Regions from separate parts of the Homo sapiens genome. Here all the other regions are linked to region 1. Evidence: promoter capture Hi-C in human tissues and cell types (Jung and others, 2019). All regions are on one chromosome and are shown on one strand. The core of a region is centred on a gene start or on the middle of the fragment in contact, and the rest is flanking DNA. Distances in the headings are between cores, read along the strand shown.

Region 1 (4,408 bases), core at 506-3,005:
GGATGGAGTAATTGGGGAAGATAAAGAGGAAGTGTGAATTAAGTGTGGACTGGAATGATGGGATTTGTATGTCTTACAGAGTTAAAATAAGCAGAGATCACTTGGACACAATGTGAAGACTCGAGGATCCTTTTTGGGAAGGCGTAAGAAATGAATAGGTCCTGTTTTATTGACAATATCTGCCATATATCAGTGAGGATTGGTCAATTATGGAAGATGCTAAAAAGCAGGCAATGGATTTTTAATAAGGAATATAATAAATGTATTTCAAGATTACTTCCCTAGTGAGTTGATGATCCCCCTTCGTCTGACACAAATTATTCTCGAGTTCTTTCCTCTCTCTGGCTTGATAATATGGGTGGAAACTGTTAGTTGAGATTGAGGTGATTTGTGGTTCTGTGACTTTAGGATTACGTGAAATACTAATTTGGGGGACCAACAGAGATTTGACATTTTTTCAAAGCAATTTTTCAATTCCTACTACAATTTACCGTCAGTATTACTTCATAAATGGAAAGTCATTTTACCATTAAAGATGTAGGTAGGACCATCTCAGAAGAAAAGACAACTCTTTACACCAAATACATTTGGTTTTGTGAAAAACTAGTATCCTAATTTTTGCCGCTTATGGAGATCAATGAGAGATTTTCCCCACCCCAATGTTGACATGTACTACTCGACGCTGTCATATTATTGAGGCATAAAAGATGTTCTAATAAAATGGAAGTGACTTAAGAGAAAGTTTTATGCCTCCTCCCAACTCTGAACAGATGCTGAGAATATACCAAACAAGTTCACACAGGAGTAGAGATTTAGAGAGGCCTTCCCACCTTCAAGAATTTTATAATACGTTAATGAGCTGAGTCTTATTTTCAAGGATGGCTTTGTTAAAGCAGAAGAAGGGTAACTATGCTTATGAAAGGCAGTTTTGCATGCCTGTTTGTCAAAAAATACAGTACAATTTATTTTAAAATTGATTAATTGGTGTAGAACTTGCAATGGTCACACAATCAGGATGGTCAGCTTCCATTCAGGGATCAAATTTGTCCAGGCCTTTCAAAATGGAACACGTTGCTTTTAGTATGGCATTGGTTCTGTTTGTAGTGCTGATTTTTCTTTCATGGTAATTAAAAAAAAATCTTACTTTCTTAAAAGCCTGCACCCAAGCTAGTGAGCTTTTCTGCAGAGGATTGAGCATCCAAACCATGCTTTATTTTGGTGGATTCTTAGAGTTTTCTGGCTGGGTCCTTTTTGAGGGGTAGCTGTGAGCTGTGAGACAATTTCAGCAAGATGTAGGGACAAGGATCGCATTCGAGGTGGCTTAAAAGGAAACACGTTTGTGAGAGTTGCCTCACTGTCTCACCTGCTAGAAGAAATTGGGAGATTTCAGGGCTTGTTTTCGGTCCTGGCGTGGTGCAGAGGTGGAGGGGCGCCAGCAGGTGTGTGGTATGCAGGACGCAGAGCCAGGAGAACCTGGGGCAGGTGTCTGGAGCCGGGGGTGCAGTTCCTACTTTTAGACGCATGGTGGCGCTAGGGTCTCCTCCGGCCCTGCTAGCAATCTCTAAGGCACCTCCGCCGCCACCTGCAGTCTCAACCAAACCTCTGGGTGGGCAGCGCGGGATGTGACGGGCCGAGCGTCCAATCGACTGACAGATTTCCGTCCACACTACTGCTCTAGCCAATGGGAGCCGAGGAGAGGCGCGGAGGAGGCGGGCCCCGCGGCAAGCCTGGCAGAGGCGCGAGGCCCTCCTCCCGCCTCTCCGCCTACTCCAGCCTCCGCCGCCTCAGCTTCCCGAGCGAGCCCTGCGGCCGCCGGAGCAGCTCCCGCGGCGGAGCAGGAGCCGGATGGTCAGAGGAGCCCGGCAGCCCCAGCAGCCGCGGAGTCGCCTGGCCCCCAGGTGCGGGGGCTGGGTGGAGGCCGGGGTTGGGGATGGGGTGGGGGCCAGGGAGCGGGCCCAGGGGCAGCGGCTCGGGGCGGTGGAGCATTCGGGGCGCAGAGACCGGAGGGGCGGGGGGTGCAGGCTGGGGGGACCTTGGGGGCGCCTGCAGGCGGCGGCGCGGGCTGGGCGCGATCGCCTCCTCGAGGCCAGGTGAGAGGGGCGTGTGAGGGAAGGGGCGCCGAGGGGTGAGGCTGGCGGCGCGGGGCCGGGAGGGGCAAGGCGGGCGCGCCCCCGGAGGGGCCGTGGAATGCGGGGGTCGCCGGGCCCGGAGAGGCGGGGCGTGGAGGGGGCAGTGCACGGTCGGGAACGGGTGGGCACAGGAAAGGGGAGGCTAGGGGGGCTTGCGGGGGTGACGAGGCAGACAATGAGTAGGTGGAGGTGGGTGATTTTGGGGAGCTGGGCTGTGACGAGCAGGGGTCGAGGATGGGGTGAGGGACCAGGAAGGTTTGAGCTCAGGGGGAATTGGGGGAACGGTGAGTCCCAGGAATGCTAGGTCTTGGTAAATAGGGGAAACAGGGCATGAGGCGTTTGTAAGGTCAGATCTGGGCTTGGCGAGCCTGTGGTCCCAGAGGGTGGTCTATTTAGTTCTTGACTGGCACGGTAGCGCCGGGAGATGTTTTCTTGTATGTTACTTTTAGTTACCGTCTTATTTGTTTGGTCTGCAGACTGACTGGCACAGTGGAGAAACCGCCTCGAAAACGGAGAAGCAGGTAAGGCAGTGCCTTCCTATTTTGCTTCATGTTTTTCTTTTTGCTTGGCTGCACCTGTGCCGTACTGCATAATTGTATACTGTCAGTAGATGAAGTTTCTTATTTATCCCCCTTTTAAAAGAATATAACCACATGCATGATTTTTCTTTTGAGGACTTCAAATTACTACCTCTACAGTCGATTTTTTTTTTCTTGGTATCTAAGATAATGTGGGAAATCTTGAGAAATCCTACTTTTTTACTTTTTGATGTTGTGTAAGGATCTCAGCTATTTTTTTTTTTAACCTTAGCCATAATTTCATTTTCTCCAGCATCTCTGTTTAAAAAGCTCATCTTGGCTGGGGTGGCTCATGCCTTCAATCCCAGCTCTTTGGGAGGCTGAGGCAGGAGGATCATTTGAGCCTGGGAGTTCAAGACCAGTCTGGGCAACAGAGCAAGACTCCGTCTCTACAAAAAATTGAAAAACTAGCCGGTCCCATAAATATATACACCTACTATGTACCCACAAAAACAAAAAATTAAAAAAACAAAAACCAACTAGCTGAGCGGGTGTTGTGGACCTGTAGTCCCAGCTTCTCAAGAGGCTGAGGTGGGAGGATTGCTTGAGCCCAGGAAGTCAAGGCTGCAGTGATGCAGTGAGCCGTGATCATGCCACTGCACTCCAGTGTGGGGAACACAGCAAGACCCTGCCTCAAAAAATAAACTAATTTTATTGAGCATCTACTATGTGCCAAGTACTGTGTACGAATGCTCTATGTGTATCTTCTCCTGTAATCCTCAAAGAACCCTAAGAGAATATGTAGTGTCACTATTTTACAGAAGAGGGAACTGCGACACAGAGAGGCCAAATATTTACCCAAAATCATGCATCTAGTAAAAGATAAAACCAGGATTTGAATCCAGACAGTCTGACTCCAGAGCTTAAGCTCTTAACTGTTATACCATAATGCTGCTAATAAATATGCAATTGAAAGTAGGTTTTCTTATTGCTTTATCTTTTGTCGTTGGACACTGTGTAGTTAACTCGAATGGTTGAACCTTAGGAAAATAGAAGCAAAGAGTTTAAGTAGTCCACAAACAAAGTGAATTAGTCCTTGAGTAATGGAGATGAAGATATATTTATCACATAAACATTTTTGACTGCATTCCATGTGAGAGGTACTACATAGCAATTCTGTGTAGTCATTAGATGATTCCTTTTTCACAGATGTTGGCATTGACCTAGAGAAAGTAAGCTACTGTAGTTATGTGACCAGTAGGACTACTTTCATAGTTAATATCTGGCAAGTTAATGATGTTAATACACAGAAAACCTCAATAGTAAATAGACACGAAATGCTGATGGTGGAAGTGCCAACAGAGTTTCCTTGTCACACTTTAGGCCTGTACTGTCCAATCCAGTAACCATATGCAGGGTGAGCACTCAAAATGCATCTAGCATGACTGAGGAACTAAATTTTTAATTTTATTTAATTGTAATTAAATTAACTTGAGAAACTGCTACTTGATCAGCTATTGGAAAACGTTCAAGTATGTTTTGAACAACTTGGGTATGTGAGTCTGTATTTTTCATCCGTCATTTTATGAAATCTAAGTATATATCAAATATTTCCAATGAGAATTTAGGGTCTGAAATGAGATAAGTATAAAATACATGCTAGATTTCAAGTTAGTACAAAAATTGAATAAATAAAATTTCTCAGTAACTTTTTATATTGATGACATAGTGAGACAATATTTTAGGTATATTGGAGTAAAT
Region 2 (4,190 bases), core at 89-2,588, 85 kb after region 1:
TCTAGCAACTATGCTGGTTTCAGTGCATGTTCAACTGCTATAATTAGTGTAGTTTTAATGTGCTCATTTTGCTGCATTAGGTTTGTATTTTGTTACTGTATTTTACTGTGTTTGTATTTTGTTCACCAATTCATCATTGGTGGTTGAACATTTTTCTTATTAACATTGAAATTTACTCCTGTCTAGTCCTTAGACCCCATTCAGGCCTTACCAGTTGTCTCAATAACATCCTTTACAGCAGAAGGATCCAGGGGAGAATCAGGCATTATACCTCAGTTTTCCCTTGTCTTTGAAGGAAAGTACTTGACATTTTTGAAGATTACAGGTTGGTTATTTTGTAGAATGTCCCCCAACTTGGTTTTGTCTGTTTCCTCATGATTAGACTCAGGCTACAGAACTTTGACAGGAACAGTACTTCTCATCGCATGGGACTTTGATTTGTCTGATTACTAATGATGTTCACTTTGATCATTTGATCAAGGCAGTGTCTGCTGGATTTTACTGCTGTGAAATTACTTTTTCCCTTGGAAGTAATGTGTAGTTTATGGGGGAAGTATTCTGAAACTATCCCATTCACTACCACACTTTCCATTTATTCACTCATTTATTTATATCTATATTGATTCATGATTTCTTATTTTGTTCAGTAGGTTATAATCCATTGCTATTACTATTGGTATTGATGCTGAAATTACCCTGTTTGGCCAGTGGGATCTCCTTCAAGCTTGATCCTATGTCTTTTTGACATTCTTTAGCATTCCTTGAGCACTTTCTTGCTTACTACCACAAGATATTCCAGATTGATCCTGTACTTTTTCTACCCCTGTGCTGTAATTAGTGAATTACAATTCTCCAGAGATGTCTGGTTCCTTTTATTGGAGAATGGTATTAGGGGCCAAGTGTTAGGTGCTAGAAACGTTCATACCACTGGGGAGGGAAGATGATCACTGCTCCAAGGCGCTCTCAGTAGATAGAATTACAGAGCTAGGGAGTATGCATCTGTGTGTGCTTATGTAGACACACACACCATGCATGTATGTCCATGTCTTCAGAAATCCATGAGTTCACTCATACTTACAGTTTATTTTTTTTGAAACGCAGTCTCGTTCTGTCGCCCAGGCTGAAGTACAGTGGCATGATCTCAGCTCACCTCAACCTCCGCCTCCCGGGTTCACGTGATTCTCCTGCCTCAGCCTTCCTAGTAGCTGGGGACTGCAGGCACACCCCACCATGCTGGGCTAATTTTTGTATTTTTTGGTGGAGATGGGTTTCACCATGTTGCCCAGGCTGGTCTCAAACTCCTGACCTCAAATGATCCACCCACCTTGGCCTCCCAGAGTGCTGGGATTACAGGCATGAGCCACTGTACCTGGCCCAGTTTCAATCCACAGAGTTCATTCTAACTTCTTCCATTTCCATATTTGCATCTCCCTTCTCTGCCAAGTGAGAACTCTGGGTCCCATTGCCTTTAATAAATCTTTTTTAAAAAAGAATTTTTTTTTTTTAAAGAAATGGGGTCTCATTCTGTCACTCAGGCTGAAGTGCAGTGGAGGGATCATAGCTCTCTGCACCCTTGAACTGCTGGCCTCAGTCGACTCTCCTGCCTCAGCCTCCTGAGTATCTGAGGTAGCTGAGTAGGCACCTGCCACCACATCTGGCTAATTTTTACATTTTTTGTAGAGACAAGATCTCACTGTATTGCCCAGGCAGGTCTCAAACTCCTAGCCTCAAGTGATCCTCCTGCTTCTGCCTCCCAAAGTGCTGGGATTACAGGCGTGAGCCACTGCATCTGCCCTTAATAGATCTTATTTGATCCTTCCCTCTTTATATAGCAAATCTCCCATTGCTGCTTTGAACCCTTCTATGTGGAGGTGCTCAGGCTCCTACTTTCCCTGCCAGTCCTCCACCCTCATGGGTGCCCTCCTCCTCCTCCACACTCGGCCTTCAACATCCTGTGCAAGCTGGCTCTGCCTGCGAATGGCCTCCTCACGTAGCTTATATTCCGACAACCATGCAGGTACCCTGTGATGTGGATACCCACTTGGTGGCTATAAGAGTGAATTTTTCAGGAAGGGAAGAGAATTCTGATTTCCTAAGTTTTACTTTAATGGTTCTAGCTGTGGGATTATTTTGACATTCTTTGAGTCCTTTCAATTTTAGGTGTTACATTTTCTCTAATTCTGGGAAATTTAGTCATTATTTCTGCAAATATTTCTTCACTCTCATTTGTGTTTTTCTCTCCTCCTGTGTAAGCTATTGTGTGGCAGTTGATTTCCCTCATTTCTCTATCTTATCTCTTGCTTTTTCTTTTATATATTTAATCTCTTTCTACTGTCTTTTGGCAGAGTACCCCAAATCTGATATTTTAGCTTATTTATTTGTTCAACTGTATCCTTTCTGTTCTTCAGTCCATCTATTAAAATTCATTATTTCACCAATTGTATCACATTATTTCAGTGACTATATTTTGTCTGCCTATTTTTACATCCTACACCAGGACCAAATTTTCCTGTTGTTCCAGGAATTTCTGTCTGTGTGTAAACACAAATCAGTTTTTAAAATTTAGGTTTGTATTGTACATACTGTCTGACAACTTACTGTTGTTTTCTGTTTTTACATGGCAGCTTTATGAAATTTATTACAAGTGGAGATAGTTTCAATATAGTTTTAATATACGTCTGTGTGTGTACGTGTGTGTGTATGTATATGTGTGTGTGTGATTTTATATCCCTTTTATACTGAAGTGTACTCATACCATTGCCTCACCTTCTTAAACAGAGTTGTAAGTTAGTGATTGGGTAGAGTGCAGTGGTCAGTATTCCTAACCATTTTAGTCTTTGGGGCCTTTAGGTTGTTTTCAATTTTTAAATGTTATGATACTAAAATAAATACACGGATAAAGTGTTTTCCCATTTGTGGGATCATTTTCCAGAAGGATTTATAGAGTGGATCAAATGGACAAATAAATCAATATTTTTAGATTGTTAACCATGTAGAGGAATGCCTAGAACATAACAGGCATTCAAATAATATTTATTAGAGGAAAGGATATTATAAAAATTGCTTTCTAATATGGTTCCAATTTTCATCCATACCAATGATAGGAGATGATCTATTTTCTTTCTTTTTTTCTTTGTTTTTTGAGATGGTGTCTCGCTCTGTCACCCAGGCTGGAGTGCAATGGCACGTCTCGGCTCACTGCAACCTCCGCCTCCCTGGGTCAAGCAATTCTGCTTCCTCAGCCTCCTGAGTAGCTGGGACTACAGGTGCCCACCACCACGCCCGGCTAATTTTTGTATTTTTAGTAGAGACAAGCTTTCTCCATGTTGGCCAGGCTGGTCTTGAACTCCTGACCTCAGGTGATCCATCCACCTCGGCCTCCCAAAGTGCTGGGATTACAGGTGTAAGCCACTGCGCCCGACTGAGATGATCTGTTTTCTTACAGTATCTTACACTTAAATTATATTTTTGTGATTTGATTGTAATCAGAAGAATTCTATATCTGTCTTGGATAAAAAATACTATCAGATGATATAACTAAGGTTTTTTTCTATTTTTATTTTTACCTCCTGCATGAATGAACATATGTTTTCTTACAGGACTGAATTTGCTCTTAAAGAAATCATGTCCTCTGGAGGTGCTGAAGATGATATCCCACAGGGAGAGAGGAAAACAGTTACAGATTTTTGTTATCTTCTGGATAAATCTAAGCAACTGTTCAATGGGTTAAGGTGAGTGGACTCTTGGTGTTTTGAACTTTTCTTTAGTTCTGCATTTGTTTTTTTTCTGGCTGATGTGTGGTAAGTTTCCGAAAATTATGGGTAGAATGTCATATAAATTTCTGTATTAGAGTGATCATGATTTTTTCTTTGACATCATTTTTAAAATTCTTGGATAAAAAAACAATAGGAAAAGAGGATAACTTACACTGTTTTAGTCAACTTAAAAAGAGCTATTTTGTGAAATGGTTTTGTATACATAACTCACACCAGATCTGATTTTAATCTGGTTTTGCACATTAGGGTGTTGAGGTCTGAGGAGCCTAAAAATGCATATGCAATTGAATGTGGAGCCTCCTATTGCATTTTTGTAATTTGTTTACTTGCTTGTTTCTTTTATTCTTTCTTTCTTTGTTTTCTGGGATGAAATGTCTGTGCCTAAAGTAATGATGGTTACCTTTGTCTACCAGA
Region 3 (4,586 bases), core at 1,319-3,818, 110 kb after region 1:
TACTTTTTGCTTTATATACTTTATAGTATTTTTGTTTTCTAGAGACTTTTATTATTTTCATAATTGAAAAGGAAAGAAACATAAGGTCTCTGTGATAGATTGTTTGTAAAATGAGTCCCTTCCCTGAATCCATGCTTATTACTAGTTCCCTGTCATACTGCCTCTGGGTTGGGCTAATAGATTTGCTTTGGCCAGTGGGACAGTTGCAGACATAATTCAAATACTTGAAAAATGCACATTAGAGCTTGTCTTCTCTATTGCAAGTCTTAAAACCTTGTAACCAAGCCCTATATAAATAAACCCAAGCTGGTCCTGGACATTTGAGAGAGGCCACAGACCACTAGCTGTCTGAGTTGCCTGAGTGAGATCTGACTGAGACTGGCAGAACTGTCCAACTGAACTCACATCTAATTGCCTACCCATAAAATGATTAGCGACTACATGGTTTTTGTTTTAAGCTTCTAAGTTTTGAAGTGGCTTGTTATGCAGCAAAAGTTAATCGATAAAGTCTCCAGTGGTGAAATCAGCACCTGCCCTTCTGCATTTTTACTGCTTTATGAGATACCCAGATTGCTATTTCTTTCTTTTTCTTTTTCTTTTCTTTTTTTTTTTTTTTTTTTGAGATGGAGTCTCGCTCTGTTGCCAGGCTGGAGTGCAGTGGCGTGATCTTGGTTCACTGCAGCCTCCACTTCCCAGATTCAGGCGATTCTCCGGCCTCAGCCTCCCGAGTGGCTGGGACTGCAGACGCATGCCACCACGCCTAGCTAATTCTTTTGTATTTTTAGTAGAGATGGAGTTTCACCATGTTGGCCAGAATGGTCTGCTCTCTTGACCTTGTGACCTGCCCACCTTGGCCTCCCAAAGTGCTGGGATTACAGGCGTGAGCCACTGCACCCGGCCCCAGATTGCTACTTCTAAAAATTAAGCCGAATGTAAGAGGGGGAAGAAATATTGTCACTGTCACAGTATACATACTGAGAGCTATGAAACCAATGAGTAAAGATCAGTTGGCCGGGTATAAAAAACTTTCAGAAGATTGTCTTCTGTAATAAAATGCCACAGATCATGGCTTCTGTGAAAGAGCATAGAACTATAAGGAGATAACAGGCTAAGGTTAAATAAAGCAAGAAAGATGTTCAGGAAAGCAAAAACGCAGTAGCAGGATTAAAATTCACATCAAAGACAATAGAGTAGAACTGATACTTAGACAAGATGCTGCACCTCAGGGTGATGTGACTGCAGACTGATCCTACCAGTACTTCAAAACATTTAGCTAGTGATATTCAGGAAGAACTGCAGATGATCTCTCAGTATCCTGAGAAAATGATAAATATGAAGTCAAGAGAATGAAGATGACACAACTGAATAATTACCAATATTTTTGATGGAGAATTCAGAAAAGTTGTAATGGAAAAAGTAAAGATGAAATTTTAAAAAACATTTTACAGCATTTGGAAAACATCTAGGTAAGCAGATCAAGAAGACATATTCAGAAAACATGCTGGTTTGGGGGAAAAATTATTTGGAGACACACAGCTGCTGGCCAAGAAACAGCAGCTCAAAAGGAAATCATAAATTAGATATCATGGTATTACAGGCTTGGTGAACTACCGATGTACACTGCACCCAGTTTATCTCAAGAAAAACATTTTAACAAAACATAGCAGGTTGAGCTAGCCACACTGATAGGCCTTGTTTTGTGGCTTTCTCAATGATGCTTTAAAAGGAAACAGTTTCATTTGAATTATTTCTTTTCTTTTTTTGAGGTAGGGTCTTGTTGGACTGCAGTGGCGCAATCTTGGCTCACTGCAGCTTTGACCTCCTGGGCTCAATTGATCCTCCCACCTCAGCTCCCCGAGTAGCTAGCACTACAGGCCTGTGCCACCATGTCTGGCTAATTTGTGTATTTTTTTGTAGAGACAGGGTTTTGCCATGTTGCCCAGGCTGGTCTCGAACTCCGGGCTCAAGTGATCTGTCCGCCTTGGCCCCTCAAAGTGCTGGGATTACAGGCATGAGCCACTGCACTGACCTGTTATTTCTTATTTTGATGGCCCCAAAAATGGGCACAAGTAATTCTTTTTTTTTTCCTGAGATGGAGTTTCACTCTCGTCGCCCAGGCTGGAGTGCAGTGGCACAATCTCGGCTCACTGCAACCTCCGCTTCCCAGGTTCAAGCAATTCTCCTGTCTCAGCCTCCCAAGTAGCTGGGATTATAGGCGTTCGCCACCAGACCCAGCTAATATTTTGTATGTTTAGTAGAGACGGGTTTTCACCATGTTGGTCAGGCTGGTCTCAAACTCCTGACCTCAAATGATCCGCCCGCCTTGGCCTCCCAAAGTGCTGATATTACAGGCTTGAGCCACTGTACCCGGCCAAGAAATTCTTCTATAAAACCCTTTCAGATCACTAATAGTCTTAGACAGCCAATGAAACAGAAATACAATTTCCTTATTTAAGGTGACAAAACAAATATGACCAGGAAACAGTCTGGCAAGAAATACACTAAAATATTAAATGGAATTGGTTAGGTCATGGGATTGTTCTTTTTCAACTTGTACTTTTTTTTCTTCTTTCTTTTCTTTTCTTTTTTTTTTTGTAGGGATAGAGTCTTACTACATTGCCCAGGCTGGTCTTGACCTCCTTGGCTCAAATGATACTCTCCCTTCAGCCTCCCAGGGAGCTGTGACCATAGGCATGTAGTCCTACCAGGCCTGGCTAATTTTTTTTTTTTTTTAATCGACAAAGTTTTGCTCTTGTTGCCCAGGCCTGGAGTGCAGTGGTGCGGTCTTAGCTCACTGCAACTTTTGCCTCCCAGTTTCAAGCAATTCTCCTGCCTCAGCCTCCCAAGTAGCTGGGATTATGGGCGCCTGCCACCACTTCTGGCTAATTTTTGTCTCTTTAGTAGAGACAGGGTTTCACCATGTTGGCCAGGATGGTCTCGAACTCCTGACCTCAGGTGATCAGCCTGCCTCGGCCTCCCAAAGTGCTGGGATTACAGGCGTGAGCCACTGCACCTGGCCTGCCTGGATAATTTTTTTAAAAATGTTTTGAAGAGGTAAGGTCTCTCCATGTTTCCCAGTGTGGTCTTGAACTTCTGGGTTCAAGTGCTCTTCCCGCCTTAGCCTCCCCAAGTGTTGGGACTACAGGCATGAGCCATCATGCCCGGCTACTTTTTTCTTAATGTATTTATTTAAAACTTCTTTTTCAAAACAGCATATTTATATGCATACATGCACAGTTATATGCTTGTAAGTAAATAAAGGTCTTCACAATGAAGACCTAGGTTATTTGGAATAGAAGTGGAGGAGACTTACTCTATACATACCTTTTGTGCTCTTTGAATTTTATACTATGTATATAAATTACCAATTCAAAAAATGAATTAAAATATAACTCATAATTTAAAAAACATGAGTTTTACAAGGTGAAATAATATAAAAGGGCTTACACTATGAAGTAGTATTGGCTAAAACATCCCTCTCACCTGGAGTCCTCATTTTTCAGAGGCAATCACTTTTGACTCTTTCTGATTTTAGTTTTCCTGGCATTTACTTTCATTTCTCAAATATACTTTTATCACTCTTTCTTCGTTTATTAATTTATACATTCTCCTTTGATATCCTGCCACAATAAATGAAGACTTCATTTACCCAAAAGCTACTCTTTTCCCTGCCCCATAGAAATAGTAGCAGGAATAAGAATACTAATAGCAACTAACATTTATTAGTGCTTACTTTGTGCCAGGCCTCTTTCAAGTAATCCACACATACTGTCTAATCCCCACCATACCCTCTGAATTTACGTTACCACTCTTCTCGGTTTTCCCATTATTCATTTTATTTTATTTATTTATTTTTAAGACAGGGGCTCCCTTTGTTGCCCAGGCTGGAGTGCAGTGGTGCAATGATGGCTTATTGCAGCCTCAACCTCCTGGGCTGAAGCAGTCATCCCGCCTCAGCCCCCATAGTAGCTGGGACTACAAGCATGCCCCTGGCTAATTTCTTTTTAAAGTAAAAACAAGTTTATTAGAGAAGTAAAGAAAGAAAAGAATGGCTACTCTGTAGGCAGAGCAGCCCCGAGGGCTGCTGGTTGGCTAATTTTTAAATTTTTTTGTAGAGACAAGGTCTCACTTCGTTGCCCATGCTGGTCTCGAACTCCTGGCCTCAAATGATCCTCCTGCCTTGGCCTCCCAAAGTGCTAGGATTGCAGGCTTGAGTCACTGTGCCTGGCCCATTATTCATTTTATTAATCATATTGTCAACTACTGGCAGCACACGTTTTAAATGCTGATCATAGATGATAGTATTATCTAACTTTTTTGTGTTTTCACTAGGTGCTGTGTATTCTTAGGTCGTTACCTGTATTAACTCAGTAACTCTTGTCATCAAACCTATGGTCTAGGCTCTATTATTATTATCTCCATTTTATAAATGAGGAACTAAGGCATAAAGTTTACTCTGTATAACATTGTGTAGACAATTAGTGGTACCAAGCCAGTCTGACTTCAAAACCCAGTCCTTTAACCCATCCATACACCATATTGATGGTATCCCTTTGATTCCATTTTGTAAGGTAAATTTTCATTCC

What was found. The method cuts DNA at HindIII sites, captures the fragments that hold promoters and counts their contacts. A contact is called where the count stands out against the background at its distance.
Region 2: a contact is called between a fragment that was not itself captured here and the fragment with the promoter of SCAI in region 1, in 3 of the 25 tissues and cell types used here (adrenal gland, dorsolateral prefrontal cortex and thymus).
Region 3: a contact is called between a fragment that was not itself captured here and the fragment with the promoter of SCAI in region 1, in 3 of the 25 tissues and cell types used here (IMR-90 fibroblasts, aorta and dorsolateral prefrontal cortex).

The regions. Positions count from the first base shown.
Region 1 is chr9:125,140,875-125,145,282 of GRCh38, reverse strand. It overlaps SCAI (suppressor of cancer cell invasion), which reads left to right and starts at 1,755. Exons shown (of 18, transcript NM_001144877.3): 1 at 1,755-1,898; 2 at 2,606-2,650. The coding sequence starts at 1,846. RefSeq lists a silencer at 1,637-2,136. The HindIII fragment of the contact is 13,050 bases long and covers 1-4,408 here.
Region 2 is chr9:125,055,417-125,059,606 of GRCh38, reverse strand. SCAI (suppressor of cancer cell invasion) reads left to right here. Exons shown (of 18, transcript NM_001144877.3): 3 at 3,600-3,731. Among named protein-coding and RNA genes, the nearest start is that of SCAI, 86 kb to the left of the region's middle. The HindIII fragment of the contact is 7,319 bases long and covers 1-4,190 here.
Region 3 is chr9:125,035,420-125,040,005 of GRCh38, reverse strand. All of the region lies in intron 3 of SCAI (suppressor of cancer cell invasion), which reads left to right. Among named protein-coding and RNA genes, the nearest start is that of GOLGA1, 97 kb to the right of the region's middle. The HindIII fragment of the contact is 9,496 bases long and covers 1-4,586 here.